Regions from separate parts of the Homo sapiens genome. Here region 1 is linked to region 2. The links are contacts of gene promoters, found by promoter capture Hi-C in blood cells and fetal thymus (Javierre and others, 2016). All regions are on one chromosome and are shown on one strand. The core of a region is centred on a gene start or on the middle of the fragment in contact, and the rest is flanking DNA. Distances in the headings are between cores, read along the strand shown.

What was found. Contacts are between HindIII fragments. The CHiCAGO score rates a contact against its expected background, and 5 or more counts as called.
Region 1: a fragment that was not itself captured here is called in contact with the fragment with the promoter of ZNF433 in region 2 in 1 of 17 cell types (erythroblasts); the score reaches 6.4 in erythroblasts.

Annotation. Positions count from the first base shown.
Region 1 is chr19:12,183,026-12,190,384 of GRCh38, forward strand. It overlaps ZNF136 (zinc finger protein 136), which reads left to right. Exons shown (of 4, transcript NM_003437.5): 2 at 2,760-2,886; 3 at 3,089-3,149; 4 at 3,545-6,846. The coding sequence ends at 4,976. Among named protein-coding and RNA genes, the nearest start is that of ZNF136, 24 kb to the left of the region's middle. The HindIII fragment of the contact is 722 bases long and covers 3,240-3,961 here.
Region 2 is chr19:12,031,028-12,038,790 of GRCh38, forward strand. ZNF433 (zinc finger protein 433) reads right to left here and starts at 4,652. Exons shown (of 4, transcript NM_001308348.2): 1 at 4,510-4,652. The coding sequence starts at 4,512. ZNF433-AS1 (ZNF433 and ZNF878 antisense RNA 1) reads left to right here. Exons shown (of 3, transcript NR_134929.1): 2 at 4,527-4,745. RefSeq lists silencers at 4,187-4,306, 4,317-4,366, 4,607-4,766. The HindIII fragment of the contact is 7,472 bases long and covers 3,698-7,763 here.

The DNA of each region.
Region 1 (7,359 bases), core at 2,351-4,850, 150 kb after region 2:
ATAAATATCTACCCTTATATTTGTTAAAAATTTGTATTTAATTTTTCCCCCCAGAACATATATGCAGTAAGTTTCTCAGGTCTGTTCTTTTTTGTGATTTTGTTGTTGTTGTTGTTGTTTTGTTTTTTTTTGGTTTGTTTGTTTGAGACACAGTCTGGCTCCAGGCTGGAGTTCAGTGGCACAATCACGTCTCACTGCAACCTCCACCTCCCCGGTTCAAGCAATCCTCCCACCTCAGCCTCCTGAGCAGCTAGAACCATAGGTGCAGGCTACACGACTGGCTAATTTTTTGTAGAGATAGGGTTTCACCATGTTGCCCAGGCTGGTCTCAATCTCCTGAGCTCAAGTGATCCTCCTACCTTGGCCTCCCGAAGTGCTGGGATTTTAGGCGTGAGCCACCACTCCCAGCTCCTTTTTTGTGATTTCAAATAGAATCCTAGAGTGTAGCCTTGAGAAGGCTACAGGGAGAAAAAGCTCAGAGAAATAGGGAGAATCACTCTTCATTATGGCTTCACATAACTGAATCTATCTATCTATCTATCTATCTATCTATCTATCTATCTATCTATCTATCTATCTATGTTTATCTTGAGACAGGGTCTTCCTCTTTTGCCCAGGTTGGAGTGCATTGGCACCCATCATAGCTTGCTGCATTCTCATACTCCTGGTCTCAAGCAGTCCTCTCACCTCAGCCTCCTGAGTAGCTGGGACTACAGGCGTGCACCACCACTGCTGGCTAATTTTTAAATTTTTCTGTAGAGATGGAGGTTCTCACTGTGTTGCCTAAACTGATGTTGAATTCCTGGGCTCAAACAATCCTTCTGCCTCAACCTCCCAATGTGATGGAATTACAGGTGTGAGCCAGTTCACCCGGCCACTGATACATTTTGATGAGAAAGTAGGTAGATAAATTGGTGAATTCACCAATTTATTTTCACCAATTTAGTGAAGATTCATCAAGCTGGGTGTGGTGGCTCACGCCTGTAATCCCAGCACTTCGGGAGGCCAAGGCTGGCAGATACTTGCGGTCAGGAGTTTGGGTCCAGCCTGGCCAACATGGTGAAACCCCATCTCTATTAAACATACAAAAATTAGCTGGGTGTGGTGGCACGTGCCTGTACTCCCACCTCCTCGGGAGGTTGAGGCGGGATAATCCCTTGAGCCTGGGAGGCAGAGGTTGCAGTGACCCAAGACCCTGCCACTGCACTCCAGCCTGGGCGACAGAGCAAGACTCCATCCAAAAAAAAAAAGAGGGCTGGGTGTGGTGGCTCACGCCTGTAATCCCAGCACTTTGGGAGGCCGAGGTGGGCAGATCACGAGGTCAGGAGATTGAGACCATCCTGGCTAACATGGTGAAACCCTGTCTGTACTAAAAAATACAAAAAATTAGTCAGGCGTGGTGGCAGGTGCCTGTAGTCCCAGCTACTCAGGAGGCTGAGGCAGGAGAATGGCATGAACCCGGGAAGCGGAGCTTGCAGTGAGCCGAGATCACGCCGCTCCAGCCTGGGCAACAGAGAGCCAGACTCCGTCTAAAAAAAAAAAAAAAAAGGTAAAAAATCCTTCATTAGTCTCATTTAGTACTTAATTATATTTGATCTGCAGGATAGGTACAAGCTTGCAAGTATTCTCTCTTAGTATAATAACAGAAGATGGGCTTAATTTTCCCAGTAACCAATTGTGAGAACACATGCGAAATGCTTCCTGGAGTGTTTCTGGGGGCTCATCAGGTGGGCACTATGTGTTGCGCGTGTAACAAATTCCCAAACTCTCAGAAGGTGGGACGCCAGAAATTTTCATATTTTTTCCATAAAGAGTTTAGGCACCGAGCTACTCTTACATAGGTCATTGGGCTCCTTCCCCAAATCCGTTTCCCAGATACCAGGAATGGATGTGATGCAGGACAGGTGCGCCCTAAAATTGGGGCTTATCCCAGGATGGTTTCCAGCTTTGCCCAGGGAAGAATTCAAGGGCAGGCCAGTGGTGTTAGATAACAGTGTTTTATTTAACAGTACTGGTCTTTGTGGATCAGTGCTAACTCATAGGCAGTACACCCAGAGTCAGCAACATATGGTCTCTTGGCAACTATATTTATACCCACTTTCAATTATATGCAAATTAAGTGGTGGGTTATTTAAAACTTTCTAAGGAAGGAATGATAACTTTCAGGTCATTGCCATGGCATTTGTAAGCTGTCATAGCATTGGTGGGAGTGTTTTATGCTAATGAGCAGTGAGAGCATCTAGAGATCGCTGTTCTTGTCGTCTGCTGGTTTTGGCCCCTTTCTTTACTTTATCCTACCTGTGCCAGATCTTGTTTTGGCCAGTAGGGTTGTGATCAGAATACAAGTCCTGTTGGTCTCCTACCTCAGATGAATGTTGTGAGGAGTGAGGAGCCTTTTTTTAAGGGTAAGCAGTCTCAGGACTGCTAATATAAACTCTTTTGCATAGTAGGTGGTAGGACTTCGTTATGACAGGTTCTACAGGTCCACTGTATGAGCAGACATTAGCTGGGACTCAGGCAGCACGTATTACTCCTTGCAACCACCACCAAGAAAGATGATCAGACACTGCTATTGTTCTACCCGATAGTTCCATTCTAGTATGAGAGTTGCTGTGTGGAAGGAAGTGAGTATGATGACCAAACAGTGGAGTAAATGTTTGCAGACCCCTGAAACATGTGAACTTCTTATGAATTGAGTACAGCTCCCCAGCCCTGTCTGTCTCACCCATTCTCCTCTCCACATATGTGGGATGTTTCAGGACTCGGTGGCTTTTGAGGATGTAGATGTGAACTTCACCCAGGAGGAGTGGGCTTTGCTAGATCCTTCCCAGAAGAATCTCTACAGAGATGTGATGTGGGAAACCATGAGGAATCTGGCCTCTATAGGTAAGGATTGTATACTTCCATCACTTAGCAATTAAAGAAGAAGTGCTTCTTGTGCAGTGATGCTGTTCCATGGTTTGCATCATGGAGGGAGAGTACTTGGGGGGCTAAAACAGGCATAGTCACAGGGTATCATGAACCTAGAATCTAATAATTTTTCTATAATTTTGCACTAATTCAGAATTTTTCTGGGTCTCTGTTTTAGGGAAAAAATGGAAGGACCAGAACATTAAAGATCACTACAAACACCGAGGGAGAAATCTAAGGTAATTTGTACTCAGAGAAAGCAAATTCACTTGAAAGTACCTTAGCATGTCATGAAATTTTAAAAACAGGCAAACATAACTGATAAGCCAAGCTTCAAATTGATTTATTTTTTGAATATTTTCCCCAAATACATATTCTTCAGTGTAAACAGATGTTCAGTTTTTATAAAAATGTTCATTTGTCAACAGAATTAAGAAACTATTTAAGAATATCACTGTTTGAGTGATAGTTGCGGTCAAGCCCATTGCAGAGCATTGAATTCATTCATGCTCAAACAAATCAGACTTGGCATCGAGTCTACGCTTTACCTGATAATATTGAAAATGCAAGTTTAATAGCTATTAATATAAAATGATTAACAAATCCTTAGTAATGTCCGTCTCATTTTTTACAGAAGTCATATGTTAGAAAGACTCTATCAAACTAAGGATGGTAGTCAGCGTGGAGGAATTTTTAGCCAGTTTGCAAATCAGAATCTGAGCAAGAAAATCCCTGGAGTGAAACTCTGTGAAAGCATTGTATATGGAGAAGTCAGCATGGGTCAGTCATCCCTTAATAGACACATCAAAGATCACAGTGGACATGAACCAAAGGAATATCAGGAATATGGAGAGAAGCCAGATACACGTAACCAGTGTTGGAAACCCTTCAGTTCTCACCACTCCTTTCGAACACATGAGATAATTCACACTGGAGAGAAACTCTATGATTGTAAGGAATGTGGAAAAACCTTCTTTTCTCTCAAAAGAATTAGAAGACACATCATCACACACAGTGGATATACACCATATAAATGTAAGGTGTGTGGGAAAGCTTTTGATTATCCCAGTAGATTTCGAACACATGAAAGAAGTCACACTGGAGAGAAACCCTATGAATGTCAGGAATGTGGAAAAGCCTTCACTTGTATCACAAGTGTTCGAAGACACATGATAAAGCACACTGGAGATGGACCTTATAAATGTAAGGTATGTGGGAAACCCTTTCATTCTCTGAGTTCATTTCAAGTGCATGAAAGAATTCACACTGGAGAAAAACCCTTTAAATGTAAGCAATGTGGTAAAGCCTTCAGTTGTTCCCCAACCTTACGAATACATGAAAGAACCCATACTGGAGAGAAACCTTATGAATGCAAGCAGTGTGGGAAGGCCTTCAGTTATCTCCCCTCCCTTCGACTACATGAAAGAATTCACACTGGTGAGAAACCCTTCGTATGTAAACAATGTGGTAAAGCCTTTAGATCTGCCAGTACCTTTCAAATACATGAAAGGACTCACACTGGAGAAAAACCTTATGAATGTAAGGAATGTGGGGAAGCATTCAGTTGTATCCCAAGTATGCGAAGACACATGATAAAACATACTGGAGAAGGACCTTATAAATGTAAGGTATGTGGGAAACCCTTTCATTCTCTGAGTCCATTTCGAATACATGAAAGAACTCACACTGGAGAGAAACCTTATGTATGTAAACATTGTGGTAAAGCTTTCGTTTCTTCAACATCAATTCGAATACATGAAAGAACTCATACTGGAGAGAAACCCTATGAGTGTAAGCAATGTGGGAAAGCCTTCAGTTATCTCAACTCCTTTCGAACACATGAAATGATTCACACTGGTGAGAAACCCTTTGAATGTAAGCGATGTGGTAAAGCCTTTAGATCTTCTAGTTCCTTTCGACTACATGAAAGGACTCACACTGGACAGAAACCCTATCATTGCAAGGAATGTGGGAAAGCCTATTCTTGCCGTGCCAGCTTTCAGAGACACATGTTAACACATGCTGAAGATGGACCACCTTATAAATGCATGTGGGAAAGCCTTTAATGCTCTGGGTTCATGTCAGATACATTAAAATACTCACTGAAGAGAAGCCCTATGAATGTAAGTAACGTGGGAAAGCATGAAATTCTGTCAGTGCCTTTTTTAATACATGAAAGAATTCTAGAGAGAAGCCATATACATGTAAGTAACATGGGAAAGCTTTCAATCATTTTAGTTCCTTTCAAATACATGAAAGAACTCATCATGGAGAAAACCAAACAAATGCTTTTTGGAAAGGAACCCATATTTGAGAGAAACCCTGGGTAAAGGGTGTAGGAAAGGTTTTGTCATCACACAACCCTGTCACACATGAATGTGTAGTGGAGAGAACCTTGGTAAATGTAAAGAGTGTGGGAGAGCCTTTAGTCATTTTAGTTCCACTTGAAGCCATGAAAGAACACACAAAAGAGAAAGCTCTTGAATATAAGCAATGTCCACACGTTTTTAGCCAGCCCACATGCTTTCAACAACATGTAAGAATGTACCCTGGATCAAAACACTATAAATGTGAAAACTACAAGGAAGGTTTTCCATTATACTTTTAAAGTCATTTGAGGGCTCTGGCTCTGTGGCTTTGTGGGTTAAAGTACTTGTCTGGCAAACAGGAGATGCTGGATTTCAATCCCAGCAGGGCCTCACTAGTTGAGGTATTGAATTTGAACAGATGTTTTGGCTCTGGCTGGGTGTGGTGGCTCACACCTGTAATCCCAGCACTTTGGGAGGCTGAGGCAGGAGGATCACTTGAGGTCAGGAGTTTGAGACCAGTGTGCAAAACATAGCAAGACCTCATCTCAGAAAAAAAAAAAAAGTCATTTGAAAACTTCTAATACAGCAAAATCCTATAAATGTAAGTACTTCAAAAAGCCTCATGCATAGCGGGTCATGTAGTCTCTAGAAAATACATAACCTGATGGAAATGTAGAAGCTATATGTATATTTTGTTAATTAGTGGCTCATATTTAAAATAGTTCTCTGACTATGGATTTCAAATGCTTAATCTCACAAAGAAATGTTAAATTGATATAATCCTGTAAGTAATCTGAAAGCAATAGTGCATGAATTTCATAGGTAGTGTTGTTTTAGGTCAGTAAATAAAATATTTGTCTTTCCATTTTGAAATGTGTTTAATCCAACAATGAATTTAAATGTGTTTCTCATATTCAGGTATGTTAAATTGTATATGGTTGCTTAATTGTTCTGTGATTGAGGACCACTGAAAAATAAGTCTTAATAAATGTTGGTATGAACCTACTTGCTTCATTTAGCAGGTTCTTGATTCCCTTTCCACATTATATACATTCCATCATATTTATTGGAACAGCTCCTTTTTTTTCCTTTTTTCTTTTTTCTTTCTTCTTTTTTCTTTTTGAGACAGGGTCTCGCTCTGTGCTCTGTTGCCCAAGCTGGAGTACAGTGGCATGATCTCGGCTCATTGCAACCTCTGCCTTCTGGGTTCAAGTGATTCTCCCACCTTAGCCTCCTAGGAAGCTGGGACTACAGGCATGTGCCACCACACCTGGCTAATTTTTTGTATTTCTAGTAGAGATGGGGTTTCACCATGTTGGCCAGGCTGGTAGAACTCCTGACCTCAAGTGATCCACCCACCTCAGCCTCCTAAAGTCTGGGATTACACGTGTGAGCCATCACACCTAGCCCATTTTTTTTTTCTTGGCTCAAATAATTTTATTTTGCTTCCTATTAAAGAGTTGTTGTTAATTCTAAGTATGTAAAGTTTATCACAGACTGTAGTCTCGTGAATTATTATTTTAACCTGTTGTTCTTTACTCCTTGTTATTTATTCTGGCTGCTCTTTGTATAATTGATTTTGGGATAAGGAGACAGCTATGATAGAATAATAAAATCTAAAATGGGAGATGCCTTTCATGGATTGTGTCATGTCAATCTGGGTAATGGGAACTAAACTTTTCAGACTTCATTTCTTTCTTTCTTTCTGAAATAGGGTCTCACTCTGTCACTCAGGCTGGAGTGCAGTGGCACGACTGTGGCTCACTGTAACCTCAAACTCTGGAGCTCAGGTGGCCTTCCGACCTCAGCCTCCCAAATGGCTGGAACTATAGGTATGTGCCACCAAGCCCAGCTAATCTTTTTATTTTTGGTTTTTCATCTTTTTTTTTTTTTGTAGAGATGGTGTCTTGCTATGTTGCCCAGACTGGTCTCAAACTCCTGGCCTCAAGTCACCCTCTAGCCTCAGCCTCTTAAAGCACTAGGATTACAGGCATAAGCCACTGTGCCTGGCCCAGAATTTCTTTCTTTCATGGTTACCTGTAGACTGCATCAATAGCCTAAATTCCTGGAAGTTTAGAATGCAGAAGTGAAGAACGCATTAGTCAGATTTTGGAGGCATCATACGGAGAGACAGATGCAT
Region 2 (7,763 bases), core at 3,402-5,901:
TGGCTCACGCCTGTACTCCCAGCACTTTGGGAGGCTGAGGTGGGCAGATCACGAGGTCAAGAGATTGAGACCATTCTGGCCAACACGGTGAAACCCCGTCTCTACTAAAAATACAAAAATTAGCTGGATGTGGTAGTGCGTGCCTGTAGTCCCAGCTACTTGGGAGGCTGAGGCAGGAGATTTGCTTGAACCCAGGAGGCGGAGGTTGCAGTGAGCAGAGATTGCGCCACTGCACTCCAGCTTGTTGATAGAGTGAGACTCCATCTCAAAAAAAAAAAAAAAACAAAACAAAAAAAAAAACAAAGCAGCTGACCAACATTCATGTTAAAATAGATATCAAGCCAGGCACAGTGGCTCACACCTGTAATCCCAGCACTTTGGGATGCCAAGAAGGGGCGGATCACTTGATGTCAGGAATTCAAGATCAGCCTAGCCAGCATGGCGAAACCCCTTCTCAACTAAAAAAAATACAAAAATTAGCTGGGCGTGGTGGCAGTCACCAGCTACTCAGGAGGCTAAGGCACAAGAATCGCTTGGACCCAGGAGGTGGAGGTTGCAGTGAGCCAAGATCGTGCCACTGCACTCCAGCCTAGGCAACACAGTGAGACTCTGTCTAAAAAATAAAGTAATATCAAAAGACAAAACAGACTCTTTGTGGAAATAAGACACGAAATCTTGGCAATACAGGAAGACCTCATCCCTACAAAAAATAACTAGCTGGGCAGAGTGGCATGCACCTGTGAGCCCAGCTACTCGGGAGGCTCACGATGATTGCTTGAGCCCAGGAGGTCAAGGCTGTAGTGAGCTGTGATCACACCAGTACACTCCAGCCTGGGTGACAGCAAGACCCTTTAAAAAAAAAAAAAAAAAGTCCTCCATCCTGCAAAGAACTGTTTTTTTTTTTTCTTTCTCTTTTTCTTTTTTTTTTTTTGAGATGGAGTTTCACCGTTGCCCAGTCTGGAGTGCAGTGGCGCAATCTCGGCTCACCGCAACCTCTGCCTCCCAGGTTCAACCAGTTCTCCTGCCTCAGCCTCCCGAGTAGCTGGGACTACAGGCTTGTGCCACCATGCCCGGCTTTTTTTTTGTATTTTTAGTAGAGACAGGGTTTCACCATGTTGGCCAGGATGGTCTCGATCTCCTGACTTGGTGATCTGTGCGCCTCGACCTCCCAAAGTGTTGGGATTACAGGCGTGAGCCACCACGCCTGGCCAGAACTGATATTTTGGGTACTCTTTGTAATTCACCAATCTACCATACTTTCTTGTGGAAATTATTTCATTTTTCTCCAGTTAAAATAGTAAACTTTCCCTATTTTTCTCCAGTAGCATTCCTAAAACTAGTCCCTATAACATCATTGGAAATCACCCACAACAAAAGGATACACCTGAGAAATGTACTACACTGCCCGCAGAGAAGAAAAAAACATATTAAGAAATGGAATATAAGACTAAATAGCGATTTTTTTTTTTTTTTTGAGATGGAGACTCGCCCTGTAGTGCAGGCTGGAATACAGTGGTGCAATGTCAGCTCACTGCAGCCTCCACCTCCCAGGTTCAAGGGATTCTCGTGCCTCAGTCTCCCTAGTAGTTGGGATTATAGGCATGCACCACTATACTCAGCTAACTTTTGTATTCTTAGTTGAAACAGGGTTTCATCATGTTGGCCAGGTTGGTCTTGAACTCCTGACCTCAGGTGATCCACCTGCCTTGGCCTCTCAAAGTGCTGGGATTACAGGTGTGAGCCACTGCATCCAGCCATTTTTCTGAAATCTACCTCTTTCTGGCCTGTGTGTAAAATTTTCTTATTTTGCAAGGTCTAGTGAAAAATGCAAATTACAATTAATAAAAAACCTGAAGCTGCAATAAGTGAACAATTATTTACAAAAAGACAAACCCACAGAGGGGCAATGCTGACTAGAAAGAACACAGTGATGTTTGACTCAAGTGTCAGGCCATCCTATCACATGGGACATTTCTCTGTGCCCATCCTGCTCACTGAAGTGCTGAGTGACTATTTTCCAACAACACTGCACTGTGCCCCTGTGTGCCCCAAGTGCATTTCCTTTTTTTTTTTTCCCCTCTCTTGAGACAGAGTCTCACTCACTTGCCCAGGCTGGAGTGCAGTGGTGCGATGTCCGCTCATTGCAGAATCCACCTCCCAGGTCCAAGCAATTCTCAGGCCTCAGCCTCTGGAGTAGCTGGGACTACAGGTGTGTGCCATCACACCTGGCTGATTTCTTTTGTATTTCTAGTAGAGCCAAGGTTTCACCATATTGGCCAGGCTGGTCTCAAACTCCTGGCCTCAAGTGATCTACCCACCTCAACCTCCCAAAGTGTTGGGATTATAGGCATGAGCCACTGCACCTGGCCAGTGCATTTTCATTTACGAGGCTGAGGCAGGAGAATGGCATGAACCCGGGAGGTGGAGCTTGCAGTGAGCAGAGATTGTGCCACTACACTCCAGCCTGGGCGACAGAGCGAGACTCCGTCTCAAAAAAACAAAAACAAAAAACGGGCCAGGCGCAGTGACTCACACCTGTAATCCCAGCACTTTGGGAGGCCAAGGCGGGTGGATCACAAGGTCAGGAGATCAAGACCATCCTGGCTAACACAGTGAAACCCCGTCTCTACTAAAAATACAAAAAATTAGCCAGGCGTGGTGACGGGCTCCTGTAGTCCCAGCTACTTGGGAGGCTGAGTCAGGAGAATGGCGTGAACCCGGGAGGCGGAGCTTGCAGTGAGTAGAGATCGCGCCACTGCACTCCAGCCTGGGTGACAGAACAAGACTCTGTCTCCAAAAAAAAACAAAAACAAAAACAAATAGTTGATACTACAAATTGAAGAAGGAGAGTTGGTGTCTGCAAATTTTAGAAAGGAACTGAAATTTTAGTATTGTACTGCAAGCTCTCCAGAGGTAGGCCAGGGTCACAGGGTGGAGGGTTTGAGATCTCACTTCCCATATATTTGGAAAATGCAGAGAAGTACCAGTTAACTGGGGAGTGTTGAAAATTTTGAATAAGAAGTAATTAAACTTAATGCCTATAGTACTCTAAGATCTTGGCCAAGAACATGGAAATCAAATTCAAATGCTATTCATATAAAGTACTAACTTATGTGACGGTATGTGGCCTGAGAAAACAATAACAAGTTACTAATTTATTGGGAAATGAAATATGGGCTTAACCAGGTACAATTGGTCGAGTAACCTCTGATTATACAACCAAAAATTTTCCACTGTATGGTCTGTGAAAATAAGTAATTCAAAAATTGAAGCTGTTGGAACTCTAAATTATCTTGAAGTTTAAAGTAATGTGACTCTGGAATTGAGTCACCTGACACTGGAAAGAGCCAGCTGGAACCCTCCCACACTTGACTACAGATTAACCATCAGACAGGCTTCACTATACCTGGACAGGCCTCATTATACCCGCTTCCTTTAGGAGTTTCCACATAGCCACTGACCCACCTTCATGTTAAAACAGACATCAGCCAACTGGAAACACAGACTCTCTGTGACAATAAGAAACCAAATTACAAACAAGACCTAAGGCCATGCAAGGCAAGAGGTAAGTCAAATCTTAGAATTCACAAAATCTAAAGAAACAGGTCTTTTGTTTTGGGTGGGATGAAATCATATGACAGATACCAGACCCTCTTCACTTAAGCAATCCTTCCTACCGCCTCGAAGTTTTAGACAAAGCTTCACACTCTCCACCAACGGCCACCTTCAGAATCCCTCAACCACCTGCACCTTCTAACCCCCCTTCCACAGGTCCCGCCCTTTCTGCCAAAGGAACTTACACCTTTCCAGGCATTGATGCATGATTCTCCCTGCAATTCCTGTCTCCCTGAAATGAATAAAAACAGTCTTGAGCCGCCTCGGGACCACTTACTTCAGGCCTCCTGGGGTTGTGTTTTCCTCAGCTGAGGCCTCTCCTATTCGGCTCTGAATAAACTTCTTTAAGTTATTTTACACAGCTTGGCATTTTCCGTTAACAAATTACAAGCCAGGACTGGGTGTTTATCATTCAGGAATCTCAAAGGAACTCTAATTATTAATATATTTTTTAAAACCTATTCTGAGAAGCAAAACTATAATTGTTAACGTGTCTCAGTTTAATTTTTAAGAGGAGAAAGGCGCTACTGGGGACCCCACAGCCCACCCTCCTCCTACACAAACCCCCACACCCGAGGCGGGATCCCCCCATGACCCTCGCGTAGTCCCCGCACAATGTGGGGAGACGCGGGGCAGCGGGCGCGGAGCTGCCCAGAGAGGGCTCTGGGAACTGGGTGACAGTCACCGCGCAGGGACAGGACGAGACGCCCGGGTCCCGGCGGCCGGCCCAGCCCCACTGTGGGGCCAAGGGGACCAAGGGCCGAGCTGTCCCACGGGAAATCGGGTCCCAGACCCCGGAGTCGCCGCGGGGAGGCCCGGGTCCCACCACAGCCGGTTCCGGCCGGTTCCAACCAGCTCCTCCCCCGCCTCGGGACCCCTGGCCCGCACGCTCACCATTTCTTGCCTTTCAGGTGACTCCCACGACCAGTGCGGGTCACAGCACAGGCGACAGAAGCTATGGCAGAGGCACCTGAACCCTCTCGGAGGGGAAAGCCAGGCTCCCAACCTCAGCTCGCCGCCTGGAGCCGGGAACCGAGGAGAGCAGGGCCTTCGCCCTCCCCGATGGACACTCGGCAGGCCCCGCCCAGCGCCCCTGATTGGACGAAGCGCCGGGCCCCGCCCCCTCAGCCGTGAGTGACAATAGAAGCCCTTGGTAACGGGGCTCTGAAAACGGGTTTGACCGGATCCAGCGATAGATTCTTTAAGCCAGAGGTCTGTAACCTTTTTAGCACCAGAACCGGTTTCGTGGAAGACAGTTCTCCTACGGGGGCAGATAGTTTCGGAATGAAACTTCCACCTCAGATCAGGCATTTTATCCTCATAAGGCGAACCCAACCTAGATCCCTCGCATGTGCAGCTCACAATAGGGTTCGGGCTCCTATGACAGACTAATGCCTCTGCTGATCTGACAGGAAGCATATCTCTGGCGATAATGCCCGCTGGCTCGCCCGCCAGCCGCTCACCTCCTGCTGTGCGGACTGGTTCCTTACAGGCCATGGACCGGGGGTTGGGGACCCCTGCCATAGAGTACTGTTGAATAGAAACTTTAGCTCGTCCGGCGGTGGGCTGGGGGGGTGGGGGTAGCTCATGCCTGTAACCCCACCACTTTGGGAAGCCAAGGCAGGCAGATTGCTTGAGCCTAGGAACTTAAGCCCAGCCTGGGTAACATAGCAAAACCCCGCCTCTACAAAAAATACAAAAATTAGTCGGGCGTGGTGGTACATGTTTGCAGTCCCAGCTACTCGGAAGGCTGAAATGAGAGGATCGCCTGAGCCCAGAGAGGTCGAGGCCACAGTGAGCTGTGATTTTACCAGCCTGGATGTCAGAGTGAGACCCTGTCTCCGAAAAAAAAAAAAAAAAAAAAGACAGGGAATTGCAGTGGAGTTTAATATACATAGAGCCGGCTAAATGAAAGAGAAGAGTTTTATTTTTATTCAATTCTGTCTCCCTAAAAAATGGGAGGCTAGGTTTTGTTTTTTTGGTTTTTTTTTGAGACGGAATCTCTCTGTCGCCCATGCTGGAGTGCAGTGGCGCAATCTCGGCTCAGTGCAACCTCCGCCTCCCGGGTTCAAGCGATTCTCCTGCCTCAACCTCCTGAGTAGCTGGGATTACAGGCATGCGCCACCATGCCCGGCTAATTTTTGTATTTTTAGTAGAGACGGGGTTTACCATGTTGGTCAGGCTGGTCTCAAACTCCTGACCTCATGATCCACCCGCCTCGGCCTCCCAAAGTGCTGGGATTACAGGCCTGAGCCCCCGCACCCGGCCGAGGCTAGGGTTTTAAAGATAATTTGGTGAGCAGAAGGCTGGAAAATGGGGAATGCTGATTGGTCGCGAAAAGGATATCACAGGAAGTCTCAGCTGTCTTCTTGCACTGAGTCAGTTCTTGGCTAGGGGCCACTGGAGCAGGTGAGCCAGTTTATTGGTCTGTGTGATGCCAGCAAATTTATCAGAATGAAGGGTCTCAAAAATACCTCAAACACCAATCTTAGGTCTTACAACAATAATATTATCCACAGGAGCAAGTGAGAAGGTTGGGAATCTTGTGTACTCTGGCCGCATATTTCCTGAACCATAATTTCTAATCTTGTGGCTAATTTCTTAGTTTTACAAAGGCAATCTGGTTCCCAAGCAAGGAGACAATTTCTTTACGGAAGCGGCAGTTATGACTTTTGCTTTAAAGCTAAACTAAACTCCTTCCAATATTAGTAAGACCTATACCCGGGAATGAACAAGGGTAGCTTGGAGGCTAAAGAAAAGATGGAGTTCGCTTAGATCTGATCTCTTTCACTGTCATAATTTTCTCACTGTTATAATTCTTGCAAAAGGGTTTTCAGATGTAGAGTCATACTTTTAGCTCCTGGCAACATTTATGTTGGAACTCTTATACAGCAACTAAATCACTGGAACAGGATAATTGGTTGAGGATTTACTAACTGCTCCATCAGGTGGAAGTGGCACTCCTTACTAATTTACCTGAAAGCACTATTTCCTGAGCCATGGAGACTGAGTATAGCAATGATATGTGATCTAAAGAAGTTCCCACTCTGCTTCTTCTCTGCAGTGAAGTCCTGCCAGGCACGTTACTACTTCCACTGCCACTTTTTCCTCCTCCAAATGTGGCTAAGCAATTACTTCCCTTATGGAAGACTGTACAAAGATGAAAACATGGCTAGGTTGATGGGGTCACTCTGAGACAAGGTAGACTTATGTTATACTTTTTGCAAAGGTGACTTCAGATATGGAATCATAATTTTAGCTGCTGGCAGCAATGATGTTGGAATTCATATACAGACACTAAATGACTGGAAAAGGACAATTGGTTGAAGGTTTACTAATTGTTCCCTCAAGAGGAAGTGCCATTCCCTATTGATTTAATTGACAGCACTATTTCCTCAGCCATGGAAACTGAGTACAGCAATAATATGTGATCTAAAGAACATTCCACTCTGAGGGCCAGATGCAGTGGCTCATGCCTATAATCCCAACATTTTAGGAGGCCAAGGCAGGCAGATCACGTGAGGTCAGGAGTTAAAGACCAGCCTTGCCAACACAGTGAAACCCCATCTCTACTAAAATCACACAAATTAGCTGGGTGTGGGCTGGGTTTGGTGGCTCACACCTGTAATCCCAGCACTTTGGGAGGTCGAGGTGGGCAGATCATCTGAGGTCAGGAAATCAAGACCAGCCTGACCAACATGGAGAAACTCCATCTCTATTAAAAATACAAAATTAGCTGGGCATGCTGGCACATGCCTGTAATCCCAGGTACTCGGGAGGCTGAGGCATGAGAATTGCTTGAACCTGGGAGGTGGAGGCTGCAGTGAGCTGAGATCGCGCCACTGCACTCCAGCCTGGGTGACAGCGTGAGACTCTATCTTCAAAAAAAAAAGGCTGGGCGCGGTGGCTCATGCCTGTAATCCCCACACTTTGAGAGGCCGAGGCGGGTGGATTACCTGAGGTCAGGAGTTCAAGACCAGCCTGGCCAACATGGTGAAACCCCGTCTCTACTTAAAATACAAAAAATTAGCCGGGCGTGGTGGTATGTACCTGCAATCCCTGCTACTCGGGAGGCTGAGGCAGGAGAATTGCTTGAACCTGGGAGGCAGAGGTTGCAGTGAGCCGAGATCGCACCACTGCACTCCAAT